Regions from separate parts of the Homo sapiens genome. Here region 2 is linked to region 1. Evidence: promoter capture Hi-C in human tissues and cell types (Jung and others, 2019). All regions are on one chromosome and are shown on one strand. Each heading gives the region's core, a stretch centred on a gene start or on the middle of the fragment in contact. The rest is flanking DNA. Distances are from core to core; before and after follow the strand shown.

What was found. Contacts are between HindIII fragments. The study calls those that stand out against the background at their distance.
Region 2: a contact is called between a fragment that was not itself captured here and the fragment with the promoter of NRN1L in region 1, in 6 of the 25 tissues and cell types used here (IMR-90 fibroblasts, dorsolateral prefrontal cortex, mesenchymal stem cells and 3 more).

Annotation. Positions count from the first base shown.
Region 1 is chr16:67,882,806-67,887,396 of GRCh38, forward strand. It overlaps NRN1L (neuritin 1 like), which reads left to right and starts at 2,080. Exons shown (of 3, transcript NM_198443.2): 1 at 2,080-2,177; 2 at 2,917-3,049; 3 at 3,169-3,563. The coding sequence starts at 2,099. The coding sequence ends at 3,454. EDC4 (enhancer of mRNA decapping 4) reads left to right here. Exons shown (of 29, transcript NM_014329.5): 26 at 1-60; 27 at 153-372; 28 at 763-926; 29 at 1,151-1,694. The coding sequence ends at 1,343. RefSeq lists enhancers at 1,172-1,351, 1,657-2,166, 2,167-2,674. The HindIII fragment of the contact is 2,833 bases long and covers 303-3,135 here.
Region 2 is chr16:67,915,648-67,920,238 of GRCh38, forward strand. The region is part of intron 2 of PSKH1 (protein serine kinase H1); the gene reads left to right. Among named protein-coding and RNA genes, the nearest start is that of CTRL, 14 kb to the right of the region's middle. RefSeq lists enhancers at 69-592, 3,745-4,250. The HindIII fragment of the contact is 5,309 bases long and covers 1-4,591 here.

The DNA.
Region 1 (4,591 bases), core at 830-3,329:
CACCGTGGCCGGCAGTGTTCGTGCTGAGGTGCAGCACCAGCTGCATGTGGCTGTGGGCAGGTGTGTGGGCAGAGTACTGGGCAAGGTGGTGGGCTTGAGAAAGGCCAGACTAGGCTCCCTGTCCACTTCACCTCACTCACTTCCCTTTGCAGCCTGCAGGAGTCCATTTTAGCACAGGTACAGCGCATCGTTAAGGGTGAGGTGAGTGTGGCGCTCAAGGAGCAGCAGGCCGCCGTCACCTCCAGCATCATGCAGGCCATGCGCTCAGCTGCTGGCACACCTGTCCCCTCTGCCCACCTTGACTGCCAGGCCCAGCAAGCCCATATCCTGCAGCTGCTGCAGCAGGGCCACCTCAATCAGGCCTTCCAGCAGGTACGATAGGCATTAGGCCCTGCTAAGGGTCACGTGTCTCTTGACAAGGCCCACATACCATACATTCTACTCCACCCACCACCTTTGCACCTTCTGGCCCCAGCAGACTGTTCTTGGTTCCCTTTGGCCTCCAGGCCATTGTCCCTGCTGCTTCCTCTTCCTGGACCCCTTTCTTCCCACCTAGCCCACCTTGCTTTACAACTACCCTTCTCAGGAACCCATTTCCCAATCCCCTAGGGTAACTACACAGCCCTACAGGCTCTCTCTGAGTCCCTCTGGAGCTCTCACTAGCCCACCCTGTGGTCATCCTCCCCCAGGCCACACAGTTCAGACAAGCAGACATTCCATCCTGATATTTGCTATAAACACTGCTGCTTTTTTCTCCTCCAGGCGCTGACAGCTGCTGACCTGAACCTGGTGCTGTATGTGTGTGAAACTGTGGACCCAGCCCAGGTTTTTGGGCAGCCACCCTGCCCGCTCTCCCAGCCTGTGCTCCTTTCCCTCATCCAGCAGCTGGCATCTGACCTTGGCACTCGAACTGACCTCAAGCTCAGGTAAGTGGGGACAGCCAGGGATGGGGAGATGAGCTGGGGAGTGGGGCAGTGGGAGGGAGCAGTTTGAAGCTGACGCCCACTTCTGCCTGAATCCTCTCCCTAATTTTCTCCACCAGTCCTTTCTGCCTTCACCCAGAGGGTTCCCTCTGGGCCTCGGTGCCACCAGGGGGCGCTCCCGTCTGCTGGCACCCACCTGTAGCCTGTCCTTTCCCCCCCATCCCCAGCTACCTGGAAGAGGCCGTGATGCACCTGGACCACAGTGACCCCATCACTCGGGACCACATGGGCTCCGTTATGGCCCAGGTGCGCCAAAAGCTTTTTCAGTTCCTGCAGGCTGAGCCACACAACTCACTTGGCAAAGCAGCTCGGCGTCTCAGCCTCATGCTGCATGGCCTCGTGACCCCCAGCCTCCCTTAGCTGCTAAGCCTGCCTTGCCCAGGGGTGGGATGGCACTGAAGGCCAGCAGACAGGCCTAGGCTGGGGCAGGGTCACGGCTGGCCTTTACCTGCTCAGGCCCCCATCTCTGGGGTGTTTGGGGGTCAGGGAGCAGGGAGCACTGGCCGTGGTCTACAGCGTGTGGTAGTCAGAAGGTTTAGCTGGGCCCAGGGCAGGTATTGCGCCTGCTTGGGTTCTGCCATGCCTGGAGCATGACCCTGAGATCGTGACACCACTTGAGTGGAATTTTCCATGTTCCTTTTTACCTCTAATTTGGATCTTTTTGTTTTTGAAAAACATTGAGAAATTCAATTAAATGCTTTTGGAATAAAATGGAGTATGTGTGTGCTTTTGGTTTGTCTTTGGTGTGACTCTCATAACTGCCGTCTGTTCGTTCTCTGCCCATCTCTTGCCCGTGGAGCTCTGTCGAGGCCAACCCAGCCAAGGGGCCGGGTTACCCACTCATCTGCTCCAACTGCCTTCCCAGATCTCCCTTCTCCCTCCTTCTATGGAGTGAGGGTCCAGGGGCCTGCCCAGCACCAGCCTGTGCTCCTGCGAATTTCTGCTCTCTGAGGTCTCCTCGCTCCTTTTCCCATCTGGGTGTTGGAGGCGGAGCCGCCGGCTGGGTTCGGAGCCCCACCCCCAGCTCCCATCCAATCACCGTCCCTCCCTCCGGGGGCTGGGCGGACGGGCTGCACTCCAAGCAGCTAGCTCCTGCACTAGGCTCTCAGCCAGGGATGATGCGCTGCTGCCGCCGCCGCTGCTGCTGCCGGCAACCACCCCATGCCCTGAGGCCGTTGCTGTTGCTGCCCCTCGGTGAGTGCGGGCATCCGGGGCCCGGGCCACACCCCCTTCTCGCCCAGCCAAGCCAGGCTGGGCATAGGGTGTGTGGGAACGCTGGGTGCCAGGGTGGAGAAGAGTTGTAAGGGCTCCAGGAAGGTGTGCTGGTGACTTCAGGACAGAAAGTGAGAGGCACAAACAGCCCCAGTTATGGGAGAAGGACTCCAAAATTTGCATCCCCTCTTATGATAAAGGGAGACATGCCAATGGCAGGACTTATAGACCAGTCGTAGGATCCCTAAGTCCTCTCTGAGGGTCTGGCCTGGATCCCAATACCTCTGCATCCTGCCTTGTCTCTCCAAAAATATTTATCTTTAGAGAGAGTTCGGAGGGCCAAGCAAAGCTTGTCTAAACCGCAGAGAGATGCACCTGCTCCTGGTCCGGGGCCTCTGGACCTCCCTCCCCTCCACCCTGTCCTGACTCCTTTACATGGACCCTTGTCACCCCACCTGCGGCCCCAGAAGCTCAAAGGAAGAGCTGACCTGGGGTACACAACACCCCCTTCCCCTGTACAAATCCCAGTCTGGGTCCTACCTTGAAGGGGGCCTGGGTAGGTAATCCCCAGACTTGCCCTTTAGTTCCCTGGGGCACCCTTTTTCCGCTGAGTCACATCCCCAGAGTGCTCCCAGGTAAACAAGCCCCTGGGGGCTGGGGGATGAGCCTGGCTCATCCTATCTACCATTCCTTCCCCACCCCACCCCCGCCCCACTTCTAGTCCTTTTACCTCCCCTGGCAGCAGCTGCAGCGGGCCCAAACCGATGTGACACCATATACCAGGGCTTCGCCGAGTGTCTCATCCGCTTGGGGGACAGCATGGGCCGCGGAGGCGAGCTGGAGACCATCTGCAGGTACCGGCGGGTGTGAGGCAGTGGCCCAACCTGTGCCACCATTGGGGACTGAACCTTTTATTTCCCAAGCTAAAGTCTCCTTGCCTCACCTAATCCCCCTAATCCCACTCCCTTAACAGGTCTTGGAATGACTTCCATGCCTGTGCCTCTCAGGTCCTGTCAGGCTGTCCGGAGGAGGCAGCTGCAGTGTGGGAATCACTACAGCAAGAAGCTCGCCAGGCCCCCCGTCCGAATAACTTGCACACTCTGTGCGGTGCCCCGGTGCATGTTCGGGAGCGCGGCACAGGCTCCGAAACCAACCAGGAGACGCTGCGGGCTACAGCGCCTGCACTCCCCATGGCCCCTGCGCCCCCACTGCTGGCGGCTGCTCTGGCTCTGGCCTACCTCCTGAGGCCTCTGGCCTAGCTTGTTGGGTTGGGTAGCAGCGCCCGTACCTCCAGCCCTGCTCTGGCGGTGGTTGTCCAGGCTCTGCAGAGCGCAGCAGGGCTTTTCATTAAAGGTATTTATATTTGTAGTAAGCTCCTTCCTTTCTCCTGGCTGTGGCCTTGCTTGCGGCTGGGGCCAGGGACTCCTAGAAACTGATCCTTTGCTTGGATGGAATGGGCGGGGCTGAGGGCCACCACAGGGGCCCTCAATCTTCCTCCTTACAAACACTCATTTCCCAGTGGCAGCGCAAAGCTTTCCATTTCATGCAGGCCCCAAGAGCTCCTCCAGTGGAGACTGGAGATCTGCCAGAATGCACAGTCTTCCTCTACCTTCCTGTGCGGGTTGAGATCGGGAGGGTGGGGTCTCAGCCCTGCACTCCTAGCACTGCCTACCCCTTCTATCCTGGCCCCTGGGGGCCAGGTGAGCTGGTGAAGTGCCCTTGATCTCAGCTCCACCCCCTCCCCAGCCTCTGGGCTCCTGACCATTTCACCTCCTCCTCTCTCTGCCTGTCACCTCAGCCTTCAAGGCATAGCACAGACTATGTGCTCAGTCCCTTCCTCTGGTTTTCTGGTCTATCTGAGGGAGGCCTGTTCTAGAAGGTGGGGAGCCTTTGTTGAAGTCCACATTCAAGCCCCTGATGTGACCTGAAGTGGCAAAAACTGGAGTCACCATAAGGGTTCCTCTGGCCTCTGCTCTCCACAAGCTTGTTCTTTGAGAAGAGGTAGGCAGTGTGTAGTCAAAACAATTGCAGAAGGCTTTCTGGAAGCCGTGGAACAAGAGCATGTGGTGTGCGAGGAGCCCCTCTTCATACCGGTGGAAAGGAAGAGCAAAATCAGCTAGGCAGAGGAATCTGAGGAAGGAGAAAGCCTTCTGGGGGTAGGACCCTCTTCTGATCAGCCTTCTCCCACCACCGCCAGGATCCTATTCCAAGCCATTACCCCACGGTTTACAGAGGCACTGCCATAGTCTCCTCATTGACTTCTATTATCACTCCCTCCACTTTATTCTTTACTTTTTTTTTTTTTCTTGTCACCCAGGCTGGAATGCAGTGGCACAATCTCGGCTCACTGCAACCTCTGCCTCCCGGGTTCAAGCAATTCTCCTGCCTCAGCCTCC
Region 2 (4,591 bases), core at 1,374-3,873, 33 kb after region 1:
GTGAGGACAGACATCGCTAGAATGGGACCCAGCAATCACTCCTTCCAGCCACTCACTTCACAGCTAGACGGTCTCCTGGTAAGCAGAGGCAGCACCTCCTTCAAGCTCCTGCCAGCAACCTGGCATGCTTTTATAGCTCTATCCCAGGACACTAGGACAGGCATTTTTTGTTATTGTTGTTCTCCTGGCCACTGCCCACCCACAAGCACACCTGCTCACACCTGGGGAAAATGCAAGAGACGTGAAGGCCTGTTCTTCCTATCCCTAGAGGTTGAGATTGCCTGGGGAGAAGGAACTAGAATAGGGAATGGCCATAGAATGAACCCGCATTGGCAGACACATGTGAACACAGGCCTTGGCATAGAGCCACTGGGCCTGGGCAGTCTGGAACATGGACTATGGTGCTCAGGTCAGGTGGTTGGGCCCTGACCCCACCCACTCCAGCCATCTGTCCTATATGTGTAATAGGTGTTTGCCATTAGGAAGGCCATGTAAGTGAGCAAGCCTCTGCCAGGATAACCTGTGAGAGAGAGAGTGTTCCATGATGAGGGGGTTGTTGCTGTGTGAATGAAGGACCTCTGACGCAGCAGCGTTTGGAGGTATGCATTCTTCACCAGCGAGTGTCTCGTGGTGCTTGGTGCCTTTCTAGGGGCACCTTTCCTGTTCCCTGACCCCATAGAGTGCTCTCCCCTGTACACCAGGCCGGGTCTGGTGTGCCTATTTCCTGCAAGCTCTGTCCATGCAGCCCCAGTCCTCTGTCAGGCTCAGTGGCATCCATGGACTTGAATAGAAAGCTTCCTGCAGAAGATGAGTTTTGAGAAGGAGGAGGCCCAGAGAAGGGAGCATTGCTGAGTGCTCCAGAATAAACAGGAGATTGGGAGTGACAGAGCAGAGGTTGAAGAGGCTGGGGCAGGTCTGGTGTTTGTTGTTGGGAGCCCTCTGCACTGTGGGAGGAGCCCTCTGGGTTCTGGGTAATGGAGGAGGAAGGCAGCAGAAAGTGGGAATGGAGCCTGGCAGGAGGAAGGCTAGCTGGAGGCTACTGGAATAATTCCATCCTGTCCTCCTGGGGATGTTTGGGGCAGATCAGGGATCCCAGGGAGTGGGATCCACATGGCATATGTAAGCCACAGTATAGGAGGTGAAGGAGTATGGAGCAGAGTCCTAGCTCTGCAGGAGGGACATCAGCTTGTATGGGCAGACTTGGAGAGGATTCCAGGCTACCCTCTGACCTGGAGAGCATGTGGGGTCCTGCCTACCATCCTGGCACTCCAGATCCCCCAGCCTGAAGCCCATGCCCTAGACCCCACCCCACTCCCTGCACACCACAGGCCTGAGCCATTGCCCCCATTCACTCTCCACACCAAGCTTCTGCCTCAACTGTTCACGCTGCTCCCAGTATCGGTCTTAGTTGTTTCCTTTAGAAATAATGCTGCCTACTGCCATTGTGTGGTGCCCACTAAGTAGCAGACCCAGGGCTGAATGTTCTACACCCCCCATCTCCAATCTATGACAACCCTGCCAGGTGGTACGTAATCCCCCACCTTACAGATGAGGAAACTGAGGATGGTGAGGTTACATAACTTGGCCATGGTCTCCCGACTGGAGGGTGGCACATCTGGGATTTGATTCCAGGCTGTCTTGGCTTCAGAGTTCTTGGCCTGTCTAGTGCTGCAGTCTGCTCTCCCTGGTATGTGTGCCTCAGCACGTTGCTGGTTTCTTGTTTCAGTGCTTTCTGGCTGCTGATCAGTGGACACATCTCTCCTGTCTAGCCTGTAGGGTCCTTGAGGACAGCATGTACATCAATACATATGCTGTCCACTGTCGTGTCCAGGCTTAGTGCACAGTGGTACCTGTATGCTGGGTTGAACTGCAGTATTTATAAGTGATAACTGGTGGGGGAATTTTCTCTTGGCTTCTCCTGAGGGAAGCACCAGTGGCTATTGGTGATGCCCTGGGAAGCGTCCCAAATGTGACTGCTGGCAGGCAGACAGGCTGTGCAGCCAGTGGAGTGCTCCCCTCAAGGGGCCAGACTCCAGGAGGAAGCAGAGAGCCTGCTGGCAATGCGCTTAGGGGGCTGCTGGCCACAGCTGCCTGTGGGCACAGGCAGGGGGAGGATTTAAAGGCCCAGGGCTGGTGTGTGCTTGTCAACTTTTAGGGCAAATACAAGACTCTTGGAAGAGGGGTAAATGCTGAGGAGGAGATGACTGGAAAGGAAAAATCTGAATGTTTACCCAGCACCCAGAGGCACTGGAGTGGAGAGGGCACGCTGGAGTGGAGAGGGCATGCTGGAAGTGGTGGGGAGACACAGGTTGGGAGAGGTAGCGAAGGCCTGTGTGAATGTGAGAGCAGTTTGAGGACACAGTCACCTTGAGAGGCGGCTTCCTATCACAGGAGGCCTGGAGGAGCTGTTTCTAAAGGATGACACAGAAGGTGAGTCATCAGCTACAGACTCATGCTAGAGAACTGTCAGGGTCCTCCAATGCAGAGAGTCTGTGATTCACTTGACATGAAATGTGACATCCTTGATGTCAGTGCTTTTGTCAAGAGTTCTATTCCTAGAGGCAGGACGGATGAAGGGGCTCTTGTAGGATTGATATTAGAGTGATGCCATTAGGAGCTTTGCTGTCTGCTGCATTCAGCATCCTGAATTATCACCCTCCTCTGCTTGGCCAGTCTCTGAGCTGTGGGTGAGCCCAGGTGACTGTACTAGGAACAGGTGGGCTTGGGTAGAATTTCTCACAGAGCCTTGTGAGTGCTGCTGGGCAGGGGACAGAGTACTGTTGGGAGAGGAAGCCCACCTTCATAGCCACTCTGCTGCTACCTGGGTGACAAGGGCTGGTGGGAGGTGGCCTCCCAGGGTTGGGTGTCTGGTCTGCAGGTTGACCATACATTGATCTGGGGCTAAGTATACCTGAAGGGGCAATGAGCTTGACCACCTGTAGTTCTTTTTTTTTTTTTTTTTGAGATGGAGTCTTACTCTGTCGCCCAGGCTGGAGTGCAGTGGTGTGATCTCGGCTCACCAAAGCCTCCACCTTTTGGGTTCAAGCAATTCTCCTGCCTCAGCCTCCCAAGTAGCTGGGATTATAGGTGCCAGCCACCACACCTGGCTAATTTTTGTATTTTTAGTAGAGACGGGGTTTTACCACGTTGGCCAGGCTGGTCTGGAACTCCTGACCTCAGGTGATCTGCCTGCCTTGGCCTCCCAAAGTGCTGGGATTACAGGTGTGAGCCACCACACTCGACCTCCCCACTTCTTAAAGTGACTCTAACATGCCTTGGGATGTAGAAGATAAAATGAGATGCAGAGAATGTGGCATGTCTCAGTGCTCTCTAGGTGACGGGGCTTGGTTATGCAGCCTGGTCCTATGCTCTGACTTTCTGTCTCCCTCCCTGCCCCTCATCTCCCCGCATATGTCACAAGGAGCAGCCATGTGAGCAGGGATAGGACCTCATCCCAGAGTCATGGGGAGCGCTGTCCGGGTGTCTGGAGAGCAGGAGACCAAATGTATATGCTGGTGGCAGAGTGGAGGCAGGGAAGCGGGGAGCGTGTTTCCTGGCTTATGCTTGGATTCTCCTGGATGCTTTAATTGCCTGACTTTTCTCACCTTCAGTGTGGGTGGGGACTGTGATGGACCCATCAGCTCAACTCTCTTCTCACTGACCCCTGCTCCCAGAGTCAGAGGATGGCTTTCCCACGACTGTCTCAATAGCTGACAGCACGAGCAAACACAAATCAGTTTAGAATTCTTTGCTATGAGGCATCTGTCCCTAAGCCCTTCTTCCCTGCCAGCCTGCTGGGGCTGCTGCATGTCAAGTGCTGGATGCTTGTGCTGTCTGTGTGTGAGGATCCCATGAGGATGATCAGATGCCCCCATACCTGGCCAGGAAGGTTCCCTTGGGAAAAGCCATCCCCACTTCACCAAAACACGAAGTGTTCAACAGATTAAGTCTCCCTCCTTCACTGCAGGAGCCAATGCCCTCAGGCTGGATTCCTGACTAGTCACTGGGAGGTGGCATGGTTTGGGCCACTGGATGGAGGCAGTGGACCCTCAGTTGGTCACTGTGGCTGGGGACCTGCCCTTGGTTGGAGACCTCTGGCAGGAAGGCAGAGGAAGCTCTCTCCATGTGAGGCCAGAGGAAGCTCTGAGTGGAGAAGAGCAGCAGCCCCATCTTGTGTCACCTCTGTGCCACCACTGGGCTCCCCAGAGCCCTGTCCTCTAGGTTTCCCTTTGTCACTGCTGCCCTGGTTGCATACACCCCAGAAAGCAGCAACTTCCCTGTAGTGGCAGGAGCAGACCCACCCGCCACGCTGCTGCATTCAGCCGTTCCTGCTGACCACCCATAGCATCACGTCACCCTGGGTCACAGCTGCCTTTCATCACTTTTTCCACCTCCAGCCCTTGAGGCCTGGCCAACAAAGAGCAGGGTGTGGTGGCTTGCACTCAGAGCCATCCCTGGTGCGTCAGCCATCCCCTCCCTCTCCTGTCTTTTCATTGTCTGTCTCCACCTGGAGAGCACTGCCTTTCACAGGCTCTGTCGCTTCTGGGCCCTCAAGTTCCTCTGGGAGCTGCTGGACTGTATCTCTCCCACA